Regions from separate parts of the Homo sapiens genome. Here regions 1 and 2 are each linked to region 3. Evidence: promoter capture Hi-C in human tissues and cell types (Jung and others, 2019). All regions are on one chromosome and are shown on one strand. Each heading gives the region's core, a stretch centred on a gene start or on the middle of the fragment in contact. The rest is flanking DNA. Distances are from core to core; before and after follow the strand shown. Region 1 holds the start of L3MBTL1 (L3MBTL histone methyl-lysine binding protein 1). Region 2 holds the start of IFT52 (intraflagellar transport 52). Region 3 holds the start of GTSF1L (gametocyte specific factor 1 like).

Region 1 (2,728 bases), core at 7-2,506, 220 kb after region 3:
CTTGAAGGCTCTCCTAGAAGCCGCCAGCCAATGACGAGTTGCTATGAGGTGTAAAGACCCCACCCCCTTGCCTTACTTTGGAACACCTCTGCAGGGCCATCTCAGTTCCAGAGCTTCCATTAGGTCAGGCTGAGGCCTCTGTTGAGACTACATCAGCAGTTCAGCTTCTTCTTCCGCCCAACCCGTCATTCCCCTACTGGTGATATTCGCAAGAGCACTCCGATAAACCTACACTCAAATCTTGCTATCGGAGTCTGTTTCGGGGGACCCGACCTAAAACAACCATTGTAGCCCCAGCCCAGAGCCGTGCACATAGCAGATGCTCAATAAATATCTGTTGGCTGAATGTGTCCATGGGTATTTTCTCTTGATGTCTGACAAGGTTTTCTCAATCCCTTGCCTTCCAAGGCCTTGTATACAAAAACGACCAATAAATGTCCTTACTATAGGTGTTGGGTGGGGAGTAGAGCCCTCGACAGCTACCCAGAAAACAACACACAGCAAGGCTGAGCGCTACAAACTTGGGGCCTCGGCCCCGCCCCTCGCCGCAGCTGCTTCCCGGACTCGGGAGGGGACGGAAGCGGCCCTGAGCGCAGGGTTCCAGGATCGGGACCCGCCACCAGCCTCCCGGGACTGGTATAGGCAAAGGCGGGCGGGGCGGTCACTGATCCGACAGTTCCGCAGAACGGTTACTTTTTAAAACGCTAAAATGGCGGAATTCTTTTTATTCTTTCTCTTTATGGCCAAAAAAAAAAAAAGAGAGAGAAACAAAAAAAATTCCATATTCCATTATAAAAATCCAAAATTAATGGTAGGAAAGTTTGCCAAATGACTCATTCATTTCCCAAGAAAACCAAAACCCCGCCCTCCACACCTTTCCATTAATAAAAAAACTCTTAATTGATTGCGTATCTCCAAACACGCAGCCTCCACCCTCCTCGCCCCTCCTGATCGCAGCCCGAAGCCACGCCGCAGGGTCGGCTGGGCCTGGAGTCCCGCACCCGCCTGGCCCCCTGCGCGCTCCGCCCAGACCGCTTTCCCCGGCGTTTTCCCGAACCTCCTCCCCAGCCCGCGCCCCCCGCCGGAGGCGCTCGGAAGGAGCGAGACGCCGGGGCCGCAGACCTGAGCCCTCGCCGCCCTGGACGGAGCGGGGTGGCGCGGCGCCCAGGGGACGCAAGGTCTGAGCCCACGCACCGCTGGTTGCTTACCTGCCTGGCCAGCCGGTGGCCGCCCAGCGCCTAGCTACGGTCCGAGCCGGGCGCCGCGCGCCTGCGCGTTCGGGGGGCGGGTCCGCCTCCCTGCAGGACGCAGAGCGCGGGGCCCGAGCGCCGGGCACATCTGCCCGGCCCAGGCGCAGGCCCAGGCTTCTGTGGCGCCCGCGCCCTCTTGCCTGCCTTCGAGGCCCTGGTTGTGCGCGCCTCATGCCCCCTCAACCTAGGACAGGTTTGCCGCACGGGCGTGGCGGGTCGAGATTTTTCCTGCCCCCGAACCCCTGCATCACAGCTAGCAGAGCGCAGCGGGGGCGCAGGGACCGCGGAGCTCGAAGAGAGAGCCTGGAGGGCTACCGAGCTGAGTGGTTAGTGACAAAAGACGAGGCTGCACCCAGGCATGCACCCCAGCCGAGTGTCTGCTCTGTCCAACGCCTTCCCACCGCGCCTGCCCTCACCCTGGAGGGGAGCTCAGGAGCGTCAGAAAACGGCCTCAGGAAGGGTGAAGGGCACGTGCGACCGGAGAGAGGAACCCTCGTGCGGGGACTCTGGTCCTGGCCCTGCCGGGCATAAAGAGCGGCATTAGCCGCGTCTACTTTTGGGTGACCCCACTGCGAAGGGCTGGGTAACATCAGTATCCCCCAGGTCCTCCATTTCGACATTGGTAAAGACTATCACCCACTTCATGGCGTATGGTCGTTTTCAGTTTGGGTTCCTGTGGTGGTGTAGCAATCACTGCCCCTCTCTGCTTCACTTTGACTGATCTCTTCGCCTCCACCTGATCTCTCTAATTAATCAAATCTCCTTGTTATTGGTTCTGGTAACACAAGATACCTGTCTCGCTTACACATACCACAGCTGGCACTTCACATAGATTTGAGTAATTCCAGAGGCTAAGAGGTTTCAAGCTCCAAGAGGGTAGGAAATATTAGTTTTTGTATTCCTAGTACCTAGCCCAGAGCGGGGCACAGAGTGGGTGCTTAATAAATATCTGTTGAGTGACTAAATGATGTAGGGTATGCAGATGAAAACAGGGTAACTTTTGGTACAGTCCACCATCCAGCCCCTCTCCCACACCAATGATTTAATTTAATCCCTTGATTTTACTTGGCCTTAAGTCATGGCCACATGTCAGACCACCAGGCTCCTGATTCCCTCCCAGGCCAGATGAGAAAAGGGTTCCTAATGAAATGTAGGCAAATTCTCCAAATTGCTGTGATCGACAGGTTTAAATTTATGCAGAATTTAACTATTCCGGTTGCCACGCCAACGCATTGCATGTGTTCTTCCTTGCTGCAATGTCAATTTTTAATCACATCTCATATTATTGGGAACAGGATTGCATCAGTTAAGGATGCTGGTTGCCATAACGATGGATGCCTTTTTCTACACATTGATACATACACAACCATCCGCTCAGTATTCTCTCATCTCAACCTAGACTGTGCGTGATCTAGATTTCAAAGGTTTATTTTAGGTATTCAGAAGATTAAAAGAAAGTGGTGAACCTACACAAACAC
Region 2 (2,995 bases), core at 108-2,607, 140 kb after region 3:
GCAGTGGTGCAATCTCGGCTCGCTGCAACCTCCGCCTCCCAAGTTCAAGCAATTCTCCTGCCTCAGCCTCCCCAGTAGCTGGGATTACAGGCGCGCGCCATAGTAGAGACGGTGTTTCACCAGGTTGGCCAGGCTGGTCTGGAACTCCTGACCTCAAGTGATCCACCCGCTTTGGCCTCCCAAAGTGCTGGGATTACAGGTGTGAGCCACCTCGCTCGACTGGTTTAATTATTTTCTAAATTGCTAAAAAAGCTGCCTGACCCCAATTCATCTCTTCAATGCTGATTTGAAATACAGTACCACCTCGCCTATATAATAAATCCCTATATATAAATCGCTCTTATTCTGAGTTCTAATATATTTTATCTACCTGTAAGCTCCTGCTGAGTCCCAAACTTTTTAAATTAATTTATTTATTTTCAGAGACAGGGTTTCCTTTTGATACCCATGCTGGTCTCTGACTCCTGGGCTCAAGGGATCCTGCCGCCTCAGCCTACCAAGTAGCCAGGACTACGGGCCCACACTGCTGCACCCATCTTCTATGCTAGTTTAATTGCTATACCTTTATGTTATAATATCTGGTGGTTCTGGAGAGCTAATCTCCCTTATTAGCATTAATTTTAGAATTTTCCTGGCTACTTTCACATATTTATCCTTCTTTAAGCACTTTAACATCATTTTGTCCAGTTGAAAAACTGCCCCCTCCATGGTCCCACCACCGTGATACATCTATCTTTTTTTGTTCTGTTAGTTCAGCCCCTGGTGAGAGTAGCAGGTCTGCGTTCCTGTACTGTCAGACTTAGCCAGAAATGCATTTCCTTAATAATAGTATAAGGCCTTTAAAACTATAAAAATAACAAATATTTGGGTAACGCTGCCAAACCATTCTCTCGCTTTCTCTTCAATAACATTACCAGTCAAATCAGTATTTTCCCACATGAATACCGAGGGGTCGCAGCCACGACAGAAGAGAGATTAAGACTGTACGATTCCTCGTCCCATGCTCTTTCATAGTCAGCGGAACGACTAAACACCTGCACCACCCGAGGCCGTGGAGATGGGCGCCCAGCCGGGGCGCCAGGAACCCGGGCTACGTCCGCGCCCACAGTTTACTTCACCCCGGGGGACCCTGGATGTTCTATGACCGGCCCAGCGGCCTCGAAGAGTGCGGCGAGTCCCTCGCCAGCTCCCAGGCCGCACCAACGCCCCAGCCGGCCCACCACTGTTGGCGCCCTTTACCTGAGGCCCAGCGACCACCGCTCACCTGACGCCGCCCAGCATCCCGCGGCCAGGTATCCAAGGCCGCTTAGTAACCGGAGAGGCGCGTCGGTGCGCCGGGAGGCGTGGCCCAGGACGCAGCGCTAGCTCCGGCCGACGTGATGACGACAGCACGGAAGGCGCCTCTCCGTCGCAGGCGTCAGGGGTAGGCAGCCTGACTGATGTGGGGCTGTACCATTTGGTGCATGAGGGGCAAATCCAAACATAAGGAGAATTAACTTTTCACCAAAAATAAACCCATTTAATTTTGTTCTTTAGTATCAATTACGAGTAAAGACTAATAACAACGGTAGGACCCAAGTGCCCAAACTTCGCTCCACCCACAGGGAGGAGAATAGTGAAGGCTTCCAGCGCGGGGGGGTTGGAGAACGCCCCAGCTTCGATTCCCAAAGCGCAGGAGCAGAGTGGAGCCAGGCGAGGGCGGGGCCGGGCGGAAGGCTGTGCTGGACTATTAGGAACTACTTAACGGAAAAGGGTGCGCAGGTTTAGTGTTGAGAATGATAAACCGTATAATTCTGTTTTATTAACTCCGCATCTTTGCTTGCCATGGTACTAGGCTTGAGCGCCGGCGAGCATGGCGGGGAGTTAGAACTTGAATAGATTCTACAAAAATGTGAAAACTATGAACTGTATTAGGGAGTCTAACGACTAAGCTGGTCAAAAAGGCGCCCCTGTTGAGCAGAGATTTGAAGAGAGAGTGGTATTCATTAAGGCAAAGGCTGGGGAAGGGCGTTCCCGGCAGAAAGAACTGCTTGTGCAAAAGCACCACCAATACAGGTTGCCCTGCCATCGCCATTAAGATGGGAAACCAGAAGCCTGCAACTACCAACAGGCCACCCGACTACCCAGGAAAGCGCTCTGTGCCTGCCTTTAGAGGTGTGTGGATTTGTGAACAACGCTGCAGCAGCCTGGAAGACCCAAACTGAAGATTGCAGAGAGCTCTGACAGTTTTTATTTACATTTATGTTTGTCTTCGAATCTAGGATATTAAAACACATACAACTCGTGTTGCTTTCCACAATTTCTGTCACTGGAAATTTTAAAAGTGGAGACGGGCCGGGCGCAGCGGCTCTCTCCTGTAATCCCAGCACTTTGGGAGGCCGAGGCAGGTGGATCTCTTTAGCCCAGGAGTTTGAGGCCAGCCTAGGCAACATGGCGAAACCCGGTATCTACTAAAAATAGGAAAAATTACCTGGGCGTGGTGGCGCGCGCCTGTAGTCCCAGCTGCTTGGGAGACTGAGGTGGGAGGATTGATTGATTGATCCTAGGAGGTTGAGGCTGCAGTGAGCCGTCATGGTGCCGCCGCACTCTAGCCTAGGCAACACAGTGAGACCTTGTCTCAAAAAGAAAGTGGAGAACAGGGTGATTTGAGAATTCTCTTTGGTCAGATGAAGTGGCTTCTGCCTGTAATCCCAGCATTTTGGGAGGCCAAGGTGGGAGGACTGCTTGAGGCCAGGAGTCTGGGACCTGGGTAACAGTAACACCTTTTCTCTCCAATAATAATAGTAATAATAAATAAAAAAAGAAAATTAGCCAGGCATGGTGGCACACACCTGTAGTCTTAGCTACTTGGGAGGCTGAGGTGGGAAGATCGCTGGAACCCAGGAGTTCGGGCTGCAGTGAGCCATGATCGCTCCACTGCACCCCAGCCTGGGCAACAGAGTGAGACTCTGTCTCTTAAAAAAAAAAAGTTCTCTTCTTGGGGATGCTGTATTTT
Region 3 (2,700 bases), core at 51-2,550:
ATGGGTGAGCTTTTTCTATAATGGGCCAGACAGAAAACATTAGAGGTTTCTAGGTCATCTGGATTCTGTTGCAACTACTCAAATCTAGCTCAAAAGCAGCCAATGGACAATATATAAACAAATGGGTGTGGCTGTGCTTCAATAAAACTTTATTTACAAAAGCAGATAGCCATCTGGATTTGAATCATGGGCCCATAGTTTGTTGACACATGATCTAGAATAACAAATCCTTGAAGATAGTCAAGGCTTTTGGGGGGAAAACTAATAACAAGCAGAGACTTGCTCTATCAGATATCAGCACATAAAGCTACAAAAATTATTTGGAATTGCATTATATTTATGTATCAATTTAGGATGACTATGTAATTTATGTAATTTAGTTTACAGAGAATATTCATTTATGATTTTGAGTCTTCCTATTCAGGAATATGGTATTTCTCTACTGTCACTCAGATCTTGAGAAACAATTTAACAGGGTGGGGGGTGGGAAGGAGCTCCAGGCCAATTTTTAGAAGAAATCCTACCTAACACCAGACATGTAAATAGAATGTCAGAGGACCAAAACCACTAACACCCTGAGATATGTGTCAATTGCGTCCATTCAGACTTTGGTCCAGTTCTGTGAGGGACAACGGCAGGGTCGACCTAAGATGGGGCGTTTTATAGGAAATGTTTCCCATGTTAAGCTGAACACCAAAAGGCTTCACCTTCTGCGATATATGAATAGATTTAAACCCTTCCCCCACACCCAAGGAGACTAGGCTGCTGTGGGCCTCAGCAGAGCAGAAGGGTAAAGAAAGACGGCCCTGAGAATCACATCCAAAAACCAGCCCTGGCAAAGCGCAGGGGCTCACACCTATCATCCCAGCACTTTGGGGGGCTGAGGCGGGTGGATCACCTGAGGTCAGGAGTTCAAGACCAGCCTGGCCAACATGGTGAAACCCGTCTCTACTAAAAATACAAAAAATTAGCCGGGCATGATGGCAGGTGCCTGTAATCCCAGCTACTCGGGAGCCTGAGGCAGGAGAATCACTTGAACCTGGGAGGCGGAGATTGCAGTGGGCCAAGATCGCACCACTGTACTCCAGCCTGGCAACAGAGCGAGACTCTGTCTCAAATAAAACAAAAACAAAAACAAAAAACAAATACGTACAGTTAAAAGACTTAAGTCACAACATACATCCATGAGCAATTTTAGATGGCAGCATTCCCAAAGCCATCCACCCCTCCCAAGCAGTGCACAATAGCCTCTTCCTGATGACTTAGGCTGCCCATTGTGACCACCGGTGACTGCAGCTTGACATCATAGTATATCCGTGAGTCAAGCGGCTGTGGGTTTTTGGCTCTTGCATCTGCTATAGTTCTGTCTCGGGTGCCATTTGCTAACTCTGTTCTCTGTGTAGCTGCTTTTGGCAGCTCCTCATCTCTCTTCTAATCCACCACTCACAGTCCTAGAGAACAGACCACAAGTTAAGACCGTCACCTACAGAATCCCAAGGGCCAAAACTGGGCAGAGGACAACTCCATCCTTCTTACAAAAGGGCTTCTCCACAAGAAGCATTTCCGTTAGACTCTAGCAGTGAGATACCCTGCTTCAAGAATTTCTCATGGAGCCAGAAGCCTTTGAAATTTGCCCTTATGATCCTCACCACCGAATCCCACTCAGCAGATTCCAGTACCACCTGGCATCGTGCAGGAGAAAGAACCCCAAGAAAGCCAAAAAGATGGCCACCTGCAAATACAACGCCTGCCACGTGGTCCCCATCAAAAATCTGGAGGAACATGAGGCTGTTTGTGTCAACAGGAGCGCTGTGGAAGAAGAGGACACCGAGAACCCTCTGAAAGTCAGTCCTCCTAGTTCAGAGCAGAACGATGACACCCAGCAGGTCTCACCCTGCCTTCCCAGCCCCGATATCTGGAATGTCGATGGCGCTAATTGCCAGCATGTGTTTGTCCTTAAGACTTTTTTTCCTCAAAAGGTTGTTTGTGAAAATGACACGAAAGAGTCAGCAAGAGAGACCAGTCCCCAGAAGATCCTCAGACCAGGACAGTAAACTGCCAGCTGAGGAAGGAGCACACGCCTCATCAATGCATGGAAGAACGTGCAATGCATCAGAATAAAAGACATGCAAAGTAAACTACCCTGGGCTACCTCTTTTTTTAACCTGGCAGATTGATAAATATCAAAAGGCTTAAAATACTCTGCTGGCAAAGGTAGGGCAAAATGGGCACTTTCATAACATTGGTGAGAATGTCAGTTGGTACAACCTCCACAGAGGGCAATTTGACAATAGCTATAAACATTATCAATGCATACAGGCTTTGATTGAGCAATTCCACTTCCAGGCTTCATTCTGTAAATATAATCACACATGTGGAAAATGAGCTAAGTACTAGCTTATTCACTGCAGCATTATTTGCAGCAGCAAAAGAGTTAGAAATGAGCCAGGTGTGTTGAATCACAGCTGTAGCCTGTTACTCTGGGAGCTGAGGCGAGAGGATCGCTTGAGTTCAGCCTGGGCAACATAGTGAGATCCTGTCTTAAGCAACAAAAAAAAAAGTCAAAAATGACCTAAATATCCATTAAAAGGGCCTGATTAAAAATAAGTTATACTGCAGCCATACAACAAAATATTATGCCGCCTTAAAAAAAGTGAGGAAGCTCTTTCTGTGCTGATATAGAAAGGTTGAGACACACTG

The links. Contacts are between HindIII fragments. The study calls those that stand out against the background at their distance.
Region 1: the fragment with the promoter of L3MBTL1 here is called in contact with the fragment with the promoter of GTSF1L in region 3 in 3 of the 25 tissues and cell types used here (IMR-90 fibroblasts, lymphoblastoid cells and small bowel).
Region 2: a contact is called between the fragment with the promoter of IFT52 here and the fragment with the promoter of GTSF1L in region 3, in 1 of the 25 tissues and cell types used here (lymphoblastoid cells).

The regions. Positions count from the first base shown.
Region 1 is chr20:43,506,225-43,508,952 of GRCh38, reverse strand. It overlaps L3MBTL1 (L3MBTL histone methyl-lysine binding protein 1), which reads right to left and starts at 1,256. Exons shown (of 22, transcript NM_001377303.1): 1 at 1,209-1,256. RefSeq lists a silencer at 1,046-1,375. The HindIII fragment of the contact is 9,495 bases long and covers 1-2,728 here.
Region 2 is chr20:43,589,299-43,592,293 of GRCh38, reverse strand. It overlaps IFT52 (intraflagellar transport 52), which reads right to left and starts at 1,357. Exons shown (of 14, transcript NM_016004.5): 1 at 1,240-1,357. RefSeq lists an enhancer at 1,166-1,235. The HindIII fragment of the contact is 21,857 bases long and covers 1-2,995 here.
Region 3 is chr20:43,725,602-43,728,301 of GRCh38, reverse strand. GTSF1L (gametocyte specific factor 1 like) reads left to right here and starts at 1,300. Exons shown (of 1, transcript NM_176791.4): 1 at 1,300-2,138. The coding sequence starts at 1,608. The coding sequence ends at 2,054. The HindIII fragment of the contact is 17,400 bases long and covers 1-2,700 here.